Linked DNA regions of Homo sapiens: region 2 is linked to region 1. Evidence: promoter capture Hi-C in 16 types of primary human blood cells and fetal thymus (Javierre and others, 2016). All regions are on one chromosome and are shown on one strand. Each heading gives the region's core, a stretch centred on a gene start or on the middle of the fragment in contact. The rest is flanking DNA. Distances are from core to core; before and after follow the strand shown. Region 1 holds the start of ERRFI1 (ERBB receptor feedback inhibitor 1). Region 2 overlaps RERE (arginine-glutamic acid dipeptide repeats).

Region 1 (5,589 bases), core at 943-3,442:
ACTGTTTTATGAATAGGGGAATGTAAAAGCACGCCAATAAGGCCGAAGCACAAATTACAACTGTATTGTAGTGACTTGAAATAGTATAGCCAGGGCTCCTTTCAGATGAAACTTGAGCTCCTTTAGGTGCCCATTCAGTAAATCCTGTCCCGTGAGGTTTGAAAAGATGTACCCTGGCAAGTTCTCACACTCATCTTTTTTTTACACTGATAACAGCATATGGGTAAGCCACAAACATAAATGACGCCAAAATGGGAGGAAAATCGGGACAGATTTTCTTTGGATCAAAAAACCTAGTTAGTTGGTAAGGAACTCTGCAATTAGTTGTGACTCATTTCCATCATCCTAAAATAATACTAAATGAATGGCTGTAAGAAGATAGGTTAACTGAATTGTTGACAAATGGCATAGGCATGAAAATGACCCAACAGCCCCTTGTAAGCCAGAAGAGCCATCAGAAAGGAAGCCAGATTTCTCTCTGCAAAACGTTCGTTTGTTTTGCAAGTGAGAGAGGGCAAAGATACTTCAGATTCTTTTTCTTTTTTTTTTCCTTTTCGTGCTTAAGGCCTTGAATTCAAAATTAGGCCTTTGAATTAAATTAAAAAGAATGTAAGTAAATAATAGTGGGGGAAAGGCAAATCATTTCATGGGGTGTAGAGTTAATAGTTAACCTGATAATAAGGCCAGAATCTCATTCCATATGTTAAACTACCCCAATTAGCTAGTGATCAGTGTCTAACTATCAGGCATTATTGCTGAAGTGCAAGCAGGGGCTCCAGGAGGCTAGAGGTCAGCGACAGGTCTCTGGGCTCTCCCAACAGAGGACCAGCCAGGGAATTTGTTCTAGTTAAAACTAGAGGGTTTCCGTCTGTTTGCTTTTTTTCTGACTTTAGTCACTCTTGGTTTGTTATCATTTGTATTATTTATTTTACGGTTAAACTATAAGCCTAAGTTGCATCACTGGCGCCCCGAGAAACCTCCTCCCACAGGCCCGCTGGGGCTTTGTCCTTGGGCATCCGTGGCCTCTCCAAAGCCAAAAGACGTCGGGGCCAGCTCAGGTCGCCTGAGTAAACACAAACCTGGGAAGCCGAGGGCCCCCTAAGTCAGTAGTGAGGGAGCTCCTCCTGGAAACCCACAGCGACCCTGAAGGGCTCAACCTCGAGCAGGACCTTTCCTCCATATTCCAACGCAGTCAGAGGAGCCCTGGGTTCCCCCCGCGTAGCCTCACCGCCCCACGCCGGCCCACTCTGTCCCCTCATCCTCCCTTGCTGTCCTACTCTGTCCCTCGCCATCCCTCACAGTCCCACACTGTCCCTCACCGCCCCTCACAGTACCTCACCGTCCACTGTCCCACACTGTCCCTTGACATCCTTCATTGTCCCTCACCGCCCCTCACAGTGCCTCACTGTCCACTGTCCCATACTGTCCCACACTGTCCCTTGCCATCCTTCACTGTCCGAGTCCCTCACAGTCCCAAAGTCCCTCACTGTCCCACAGTCCCTCACCGTCCCACACTGTCCCTCACTGTCCTACACAGTCCCTCACTGTCCCTCATCGTCCCGCACTGTCCCTCACCGTCCCACACCGTCTCTCATCGTCCCGCACTGTCCCACACAGTCGCTCACCGGTCCACACGGTCCCTCATCATCCCACACTATCCTTCACTGCCCCACACAGTCCCTAAGTGTCCCTCACTGTCCCTCCCACGCCGCAAGCCCAGTCGAGAGCGGCTCCCCTCTCCCCCTCCAGGGCTTCTTCGGCCCACACGGCCAGCGGCGGCCCGCGGAGAGGAAAAAACACACAATCTTGCCCGGAGCCTGAATTTATGGGAAATCCCGCGCGAAGCGCGATGTGCCCTCAGTTCGGGCAGGAACAGCGGCCGAGGCCCGGGTCGCCGCGGGCTTCTGAGGAAAGCTCGGCGTTGAGAGGCTCCCAGGGCTGCCGCACGGCTCAGGCAGAGGAGCGGAGCTGCGGCCGCGGTCAGCCCGGAGACGCCTCTCCGGGAGACAAAGCCGGCTCCCTGCAGCGCCGCGATACGCCACGGTGGGCCCGGCGCAACGCCTCGGCCACGGCATCGCCCCTTTAAGCGGCGCGCGCCCTGATTGGCTGCGGGAGGAGGCGGGGCGGGACGCGGCGACCTCACGGCCCGGCGGCCTATGCTATATATAGAGGCGGCGGCGGCAGCCGCGGCGACGGCGGTCCGGTGCGAGGCAGAGTGCTAGCGGGAGCGCGAGCCAGCAAGAGGCGCCTGCGCGATGTCCGGGCCCCTGAGCCCGCGGCGCTGAGCCAGCCGGGACGGACATGCGCGGGAGGGCGCCGCGGGGCAGCCGCCGCTCCTCCGGGGTAAGGGGCCTGGCGCGCTGAGGGGGTGGGGAGGGCCACGCAGCGCTCCGTTCCCTCAGGGGGCCCCGCGCCGGGCGCCGGGATCCAGGCGGCTCCCCGACGCGAGGGCGGGGGCGTGGAGGGCGCGGGGAGGGTCGCCGCGACGCGGAGTCTCTGGGATGGAGGGAGAGGCCGGCCGGTCGCTCGCGGGCTTCTCCCCATTGAGGTGTGGAGAGCGGGACCCTCCCCGGCGGCGCAGCCCGGGCCTGGGGACGCCGCGAAGTGCCGGCGCCCGCCGCCTTCTCCACGCCGGCTGTGGTCGTCGCGCGGCCCCTCGGCTGGCCGGGGCCATGCACCCGAGCGCCCGGGATACGTCCCCGCAGCACCGGGACCGCAGGAGCGGACGGGGGTTCGGGAGCGGCGAGCATGAAGGTCCTCGTCCCGCAGCCTGCGCTCGCGGGGTTGCCCGGCGGGGATGAGCGTCTTCGGGCCTGGGGGCTTGTTTGATTTTTTTTTTATTTGTAAAAAGGGGGTTGCGTTGTCTTGTTCACACCGTGTACCCGTAAATCCTGTCTTGAAAGCTGGGGTGGGAGGCTCGGCGATTGCTTGCGGTGGTTGGTACCGGTTCTCTGGCGGTCAGCCCCGCTCCCTCTGCCTAATCTCACAGCGACGATGGTAATGCCGAAATCAGTATTTAAAAATTCGTCTAAGCTGTTCTGAACTCTTCCTTCTCTCCTAGAAACGTGATTCTTTGCTCTGAGTGTCTTAAGTACGGCTTTGAATGGAATCGGACTGCAAAATTATGTGTTCAAGACGTGAATGCTTATTGGGAATTTTGTGTGTGTATTTATATGTATATCATAGCCCTGTACAAATTAGATGACTCTTTAACCGTGAATGGTGCTGTATTAGTGCTTGCTAAGTCTTTATTAGGATTTCATCATTGCTTGAAAGAAACCAGTCTCTTACCTGATAAAAATATGAATAGATGGTTAGTCATAAACTTAAGTCAGAATGGAGACTGTAGCTTTAAAAGAGATGTGTCGGTGACTTGAGGTACACCTGCAACACAGGTAGGGCAAGACTGGTTTCTAGGCAACTGTCAGGGGTGAAGAAAGGTGAGGTTAAAATGCCCTTTTTTTCCCTTCCAGAACAAATGTTCAACCTTTTATAAATGTGTAAGAATGCAGTGGGTACACACATTTGTTGAGACTGAACATCCCAAGTTCACCGTACCTATTTTTTTAACTGCATTTCTTTTCTTATATTTCTGTAATTACAATATACAGTTTTAAGTGAAATTTTATTTGAACAGAGACCAAAGACAGGCTAGGTATCAGCAAATGATCAAATTTTGCAAAGACCAAAATAAAAGAAGCTGGTTTCTTGCTAACATGCTGGCTATAATTGGTTACCAATATGTTATCAAGCAAGTTCTTTTCCAGATATTAGCAAGTTTGAAGAAAAATAACAAAGGATTTAGCATGGACTTCAGAAACTATTTGTCATTCCCTTTGCTTCAAGCAGAAGTTTATTTTCACCTGTGTGTTCCAGGGGACACTCGATAATAAGTGATAGAGGTCTTAGACTAACGATTTATAACCTGACAGATATATTAGATTGTAAACTCCTTAAGGGTAGGCACTCTGCCTTGTATAGCTTCTATCTTATGCAGCCTTGCACATAGTTGATGTTGATAAATAATTGCATGAAAGCATGTTTTACCTTTTAAGGCTCAGCAGGATTGGAGCAGTCATTGATAAGGGTTGGAAAGCAAATCTGTTTAATTTTTTTATGGCTGTTATGAAATGCCTGAATTATTGATATTTTTGACGGGTAAAACTGTTGTTTCAATCATCGGTTTTCCTACTTGCAGTTCACAATATATACTGGTCACTCTTTATAAGATTTAATTATGCTTGAGTTTTTGTGTGAAAATACCTCTTGACTGCTGCTTCTCAAAAGTTGAGCTAGATAATACTTCCTTTCTGCTGAAACTAATGGTGGCTTTTCAAAGCAATTTGCGTAAATTACAGGCACAATCTAACATGCTTGAAACTGACCTGATTGTCTGCATACCATCAGATTGCTTTAGAAAGGAGCAGAGGAAGGAAAGGAGGTGTCAGGGGTAACTCCAGGAATTGGAATGGCATAGGCTCCCTCTGCCAGAGAAACAACTCTGCTCTTGATCTAAATAAATTTGAATTGGTACCTCATCATCTGGATCCATTTGGATACATTTAGCATCCTTTGCGGGTGTCTGGCTATACAAAAGCTAATAAAGAACTCGCTACATAAACGCAGTCCAGTTGTGGTATTCTGGCATTGTTCACACAGCATAAACACGTGCTTTGTAAAGGTAGATGAGGCGAATGAGTTTGAGGGTCCTAAATGTAAGTTACTACCTTAACAATTAGTTTTAAGATAGGGAAAAGTTACTGAGGGGGGTTCAGATTTCAGAAGGTGGTGGGGAGGATTCTCAGATTTCAAGTCTTTGTTGATACTGTAGTCCAATTCCTCACACCATAAAATTGGGCAATATTACGAAAAGACCACTCTTCCAGGTCTCAATGAATGTGTCTTTAAAATGTGGGGCTTTTGGCCGGGCTCAGTGGCTCAGGCCTGTAATCTCAGCACTTTGGGAGGCCAAGGCGGGCAGATGGCTTGAGCCCAAGAGTATGAGACCAACCTGGGCAACATGGTGAAACCCTGTCACTACAAAAAAACACAAAAATTAGCTGGGTATGGTGGCACACGTCTGTAGTCCCAGCTACTCAGGAGGCTGAGGTGGGAGGATTGCTTGAGCCTGGGAGGCAGAGGTTGCAGTAAGCCAAGATCACACGACTGCACTACAGCCTGGTGACAGAGTGAGACTCTGTCTTTAAAAAATAAACAAACAAAAAAATGTGGGGCTTTGGCTACAGAAATGGAGCCCTTTTCAACTTGGAAACAATAGGAAGGTAAGGATTGGAAGACATTATCCAAAAGCTCTTATTCAATACCCCAGATGTGAAACTGGACTAGTTACAGATTGTTTTTTAAACAACTATTCGCTCAGTAGAATTGTCTTCTGACTCTTATCAGGGCTGCCTCTTTTTCAGCCTTTAGATTTCCATTTAAAAGTCACCTACTCAGAGAGGCCTTCCCAAACCACCTGTGTAAATATATGCTCCTCTGCCTCCTTATCCTATTGCTGCTGTACCCTGCTTGTTTCCTTGGAAGGTATCGCCATCTAAAATTGTTTGCTTGCTTGGCTATTCTCTTCCT
Region 2 (5,589 bases), core at 2,221-4,720, 710 kb before region 1:
CTTATGCTAACTGCTGGAAGGTTTAATTGCTTCCTTGATATTTTCAGCATGTCAGAAATCTCCACCTCCTAGTCCTTAGATTTTAGATTGTAACAAATTGCAGCCAAACAGCTAAGGTTTGAATTCTTATTCTTTATTTATATATGTTATAGATTTTACTGTCAATAAAACTAGGATAATTATGAGTTATTAAGAAGTTTAAGTTAGATAGTCTAAGTAAAGTGCTTAATATAAAACAGTGGCTGGCACACAGTACTTGACACAATAAGTATCAAGTATTATTATCAAGCATACAATTTTGTGGGAGAGGCAAATAATAAATAATTTAAATATTCTCTGTAGGTGTGTCTATGAGGGATGCGGTAAGTAAAAGGGAAATCAGAGAAGGCTATATAAGGAAGTTGAGAAGGATAATTGAGAGAGAAGTGAAGGAAGGCCATTCCAGACAGAGAAAGTCCCTTTTCTAAGGTGCAAAAGCATAAAACAGTGTTGGTGAGTTTGAAAATTCCAGTAGTTCATAATGGCTTGAAATAGTCTGGGTTATGAGAGATGCAATGGCAGATGATGATGATAGCTGACATTTATTGAGCACTTAGGCAACGTCCTCTTTTAAGTGTTTTTTATGTTTTAATGTATTAATTCCCTATAGTAACTATATTGGTAGTATAATTACCTTCATTTTACTGTTGAGCAGACCGAGGCAGGGAGATTAAGTAACTTATCCAAGGTCTTGCAAAGTCAGCCCATGTTTGTGTGCACCCCTTGTGCTGCCTCATGAGCCTGCTTGGTAGATGTAGTGCAGACAATGAGCAGTGTCTGGATTCACTTCCATAAGCTTTGGGAAACTATAATATTAAAGGATTTTAAGCAATAAAGTGAAACTCTCAGATTTCTACTCTAGGATGACCAGCAATGGCTTAGGGAAGATGATGAAAATCTCGTTTCCACTTCCTTCCTTTCCCTTCTCCTCCCACCCCAAATCCTTTATGTCCTGAAGAAATGATATAATTCATTATTAATATAATACTTTGAGAAATGTGGAGGAGTTCTTTAAATTGATCTTCACCTTGTAATGAATTTGGACACATTTTCAGGACTTCTCCAGCTGTATCAAAGTAAAGGCAAGAAGGGTCAACAATAACAGTTATATTATATGCATTTTATTTTATTTTATTTTAATTTTTGAGACGGAGTCTCACCTTTTTGCCTAGACTGGAGTGCAGTGGCACGATTTCGGCTGACTGCAACCTCCACCTCTGGGTTCAAGCAATTCTCCTGCATCAGCCTCCCGAGTAGAGTAGCTGGGATTACAGGCACCCACCACCATGCATGGCTAATTTTTGTGTCTTTTAGTAGAGATGGGGTTTCACCCTGTTGGCCAGGCTGGTTTGGAACTCCTGACCTCAGGTGATCCAGCCTGCCTCAGTGCTGGGATTATAGGCGTGAGCCACCGTGCCCAGCCACATACATATTTTAGATTAAGCTCCTATATGATATATGTAACAAAATACCTCCAAACTGCTGCTTAAAACAACATTCAGCATTTGTTATCCCACACACCTTTTGTGGGTCAGGAATTTAGGAGTGGCTTGAGGTCCCTTCTCAGGTTGCAGTCAACTGAAGGCTTGATAGGGCCTGGAGGATCCAATTGCAACATAGTGCATTCACAAGGTTGGCAGAGTTCTTGCTGGCTGTTGGCAGAAGCTTCAGTTCCTTGCACATGGAACCTCTTCATAGGGCTGCCTGAGTTTCTTCATGATACTGCACCTGGCTTTCCAGAAGAAAGGATTCATATAAGAGCAAGGTGAAAGCTGCAATGTCTTTTATGACGTAGCCTTGGAAGACATTATTGTCAAGAGTTTGAATACCAGGAGGCAGAGCTCACTGGGGGCCATTTTGTGGGCTGGTTACCACAGTTCTCATGAAAATGTTAGTGAATAGAATAATAAAATTTAGAACTAAAAGGAGCCGTAGCCCAGTGGTTTCAAGATGTGGCTCTTGAACCAGCAGCAGCACTTGTGAATTTGGTTAAAATGTAAATTATTGGGCCTGTCCCAAGACTTACTGAATTAGGATCGAGGAGTGACTCCCAACACTCACTCTCTCTCTCTCTCTTTTTTTTTAAATAAACTTTATACTTTAGAACACTTTTAGATTTATAGAAAAATCGGGCTGGGCGTGGTGGCTCACGCCTGTAATCCCAGCACTTTGGGAGGCAGAGGTGGGCGGATCACGAGGTCAGGAGATTGAGACCATCCTGGCTAACACGGTGAAACCCCGTCTCTACTAAAAATACAAAAAATTAGCCGGGCGTAGTGGCGGGCGCCTGTAGTCCCAGCTACTCGGGAGGCTGAGGCAGGAGAATGGCGTGAACCCGGGAGGCGGAGCTTGCAGTGAGCTGAGATAGCGCCACTGCACTCCAGCCTGGGTGACAGAGCAAGACTCCATCTAAACCAAAAAAAAAAAAAAAAAAAAAAAAAAAGAAAAATTGAAAATTGGGCAGATAGTATAAGTAGTTCCCACACACACACATATACAGACACACACACAGAGTTCCCCCTATTATTAACATCTTGCATGAGTGTGGCTTATCTGTTACAACTGATGAAGCAGTATTAATATATTATTAACTGAAGTCTACAGTTTAAGATTCACTCTTTGTGTTGTACATTCTGTGGGGTTTGACAGAAACGTAAATGTCATGTGCTTATCCACAGTTACAGTATCCTGCAGAATAGTTTCACCACCATTAAAACTTCTGTGCTCCATGTAATCATCTCTCCCTTCTTTGCCCAGCCCCTGGCAACCACTGGTCCTTTTACTATCTCTATAGTTTTGTCTTTTAAAGAAAGTTGAAGTTCCTTTTAAAGAAAGTTCTATGGTTGGAATCATATAGTGTGTATACTTTCAGATTGGCTTCTTTCACTTAACAATATGTGTTTAATGTTCCTCTTTCTTGTTCTTTAGAGCTCATTTCTTTTTATTGCTCAGTGAACACCACAGTTCGCATATCTATTCATGAAGTACGGTTGAAGGACACCTTGGTTGCCTTCTGTCTCTGATTATGAATAAAACTACTCTAAAATTTGTGCAGATTTTTGTATGGACATAAGTTTTTAAGTCAGTTGGACAAATGCTTAGGGGCACGATTGTGGGATTGTATGGTAAGATTATGTTTAGCTTTTTCAGGCTGGGCGTGGTGGCTCATGCCTATAATCCCAGCACTTTGGGAGGCTGAGGTGGGCAGATCACGAGGTCAGGAGATCGAGACCATCCTGGCTAACACAGTGAAACCCCGTCTCTACTAAAAATACAAAAAAATTAGCCGGGCGTGGCAGTGTGTGCCTGTAGTCCCAGCTGCTGGGGAGGCTGAGGCAGGAGAATGGCATGAAACCAGGAGGCAGAGCTTGCAGTGAGTCGAGATCGTGCCATTGCACTCCAGCCTGGGTGACAGCGCAAGACTCTTCTCAAAAAAACAAAACAAAACAAACAAACAAACAAACAAACAAAAAAACATTATGTTTAGCTTTTTCAGAAAATGCCATACTGTGCTTCATGTTTGCTGTGGGTTAGATGCTTCCGTTTCCTGTAGTTTTCTTGTTTTTTTCCACCCCTGGTTTCTTTGGGTTTCCCTAAGAACTCCTTCTTAAATAGAGTCTGTCTTGAAGCTCTGTCAGTTGTAATGCATTTTTTTTTTTATACTGGAGCTCTGTTGATGTGGTGGAAAGGTGTTGGGGAAGGAGTGCATTCTGTAATCTAATATTAAATCTCAGTTTTTTAGTGGGCGTAAGTCTTTAGGCTGTGATCTTCCGAAGAGTTTATTAGCTTTCCTCCCCTCACCCCTTCTGTGAGAAGGCAAGAGGGAGTTGAGTAATTGTCCTTTCCCCAGGTCTACAAAGCTCCTGCGAAGTAGTTTTTCTTAGCAGGTGGGCCTTTGTTATGGAGAATGCTCTGAGCAATTGCAAAATGGTTACTTTCCCCTCTCCCTGCCTAAAATACGAGGGGATTTTTTTCTTTGATGTTCTTGTAAGAACCTGTTCAGGCTCCTGGAGGTAAAAGCTATATAGGTCCCTCTTAAGTCTGGACCTCCAGAAGTTTTAACTCTCAAGCTAGTCCACACTCAGTCTTCTGCAGTTCGTCAAAATTACCGTTCAGGTATTGATTACTGTATTGCTTACTGGTTCATGTAGCTTTTGCTTCTGGTAATCTGATCTTTTCTGTGATTCTCTGTATTTTCTTGTGATTTTTTTCCTTCAAATTTTGTGGTAGCTGTTTGCTCTGTGACCCCAGTTCTCTAATGGATCTAAGAAAGGCCATTGATTTCAGTTTGTTTAGCTGTTTTCTTGCTGTGAGGATGGGAATGATGACTTCTGAACTGAAAATGAAGCCTGGCACCCAACACCCCTTGCTTTAACAAATCCCTCCAGGTGATTCTGAGGCATGTGAATGGTTGAGAACCACTCATGCAGCGTTAGTCCTTCAGTTCACAGATAAAGTACAAAGGGGAAACTGGCTGGTCACTGTGGCTCACACCTGTAATCTTAGCCCTTTGGGAGCCTGGGAGGTAGATGGTGCAGTGAGCTGTGATTGCACCACTGTACACCAGCCTGGGTGACAGAACAAGACTCTGTCTCAAAAAACAAAACCAGACTGGGCGTAGTGGCTCATGCCTGTAATCCCAACACTTTGGGAGGCTGAGGCAGGTGGATCACCTGAGGTCAGGAGTTCAAGACCAGCCTGACCAACATGGTGAAACCCTGTCTCTACTAAAAATACAAAAATTAGCTGGGTGTGGGGACGCATGCCTGTAATCCCAGCTACTTGGGAGGCTGAGGTAGGAGAATGGGGTGAACCCGGGAGGCGGAGCTCGCGGTGAGCCGAGATCGCGCCACTGCACTCCAGCCTGGGCAACAGAGCGAGACTCTGTCTCAAAAACAAAAACAAAAACAAAAAAAACCCCAAAAACAAATGGGGGAAATTACTTTTCTAAGTTACAGGGAGAGTCAAAACCCGGACTAGAACCTGGGTCTCTTGACTAGATCATCTTCAAGCTGTATTTTTGTATCTACATATAGTGACCTTCAAAGGGATTCATTATATTTCATCTTGTGTATTGTATGTTTGACAAGTATATTTGTTTTGATGGTTCACTGATTTCAGTCCTTGGTATTTACCTCAAGTTCATTCTGGGATCTGGTTCTATTCATACACATTATCATAGCTATTTGGAAGCTTACTTGAAATCTTCTCTTTGAAAGAAATATCAGCCTATCTCAGGTGTGAGCTTCAGTGTAACATTGATGTGAGTGAAATAGTATGTTATATAGAAAATTTTATTTTCCCCTGCCATCCCTTACATAAGATTTTTTAAATACCTGAAAGAAAACCTTAGAGCTCTTCATTCAGTCTTTGGAAAAGCCTGATGTGAACCATCATATGGGAGGAATCAGCTGCATCTGTCATTCTTTCTTCCCATGAGTTCCCATAATTTCATTTTCTTAATATGTAGTATAGGGTGGATAGCAGTCATAATCCCCTTTTCCATCTCAAGCCAGCCCACACTCCTTAGCCTCATGCACATGACATTCC

Evidence for each region. Contacts are between HindIII fragments. The CHiCAGO score rates a contact against its expected background, and 5 or more counts as called.
Region 2: a fragment that was not itself captured here is called in contact with the fragment with the promoter of ERRFI1 in region 1 in 1 of 17 cell types (total CD4 T cells); the score reaches 7.1 in total CD4 T cells.

Annotation. Positions count from the first base shown.
Region 1 is chr1:8,022,912-8,028,500 of GRCh38, reverse strand. ERRFI1 (ERBB receptor feedback inhibitor 1) reads left to right here and starts at 2,192. Exons shown (of 4, transcript NM_018948.4): 1 at 2,192-2,343. It overlaps ERRFI1-DT (ERRFI1 divergent transcript), which reads right to left and starts at 2,008. Exons shown (of 3, transcript NR_185980.1): 1 at 1,080-2,008. RefSeq lists silencers at 2,107-2,156, 2,277-2,376. The HindIII fragment of the contact is 13,168 bases long and covers 1-5,589 here.
Region 2 is chr1:8,729,702-8,735,290 of GRCh38, reverse strand. The region is part of intron 1 of RERE (arginine-glutamic acid dipeptide repeats); the gene reads left to right. Among named protein-coding and RNA genes, the nearest start is that of RERE, 85 kb to the left of the region's middle. RefSeq lists a silencer at 3,228-3,397 and an enhancer at 4,380-4,879. The HindIII fragment of the contact is 3,528 bases long and covers 1,707-5,234 here.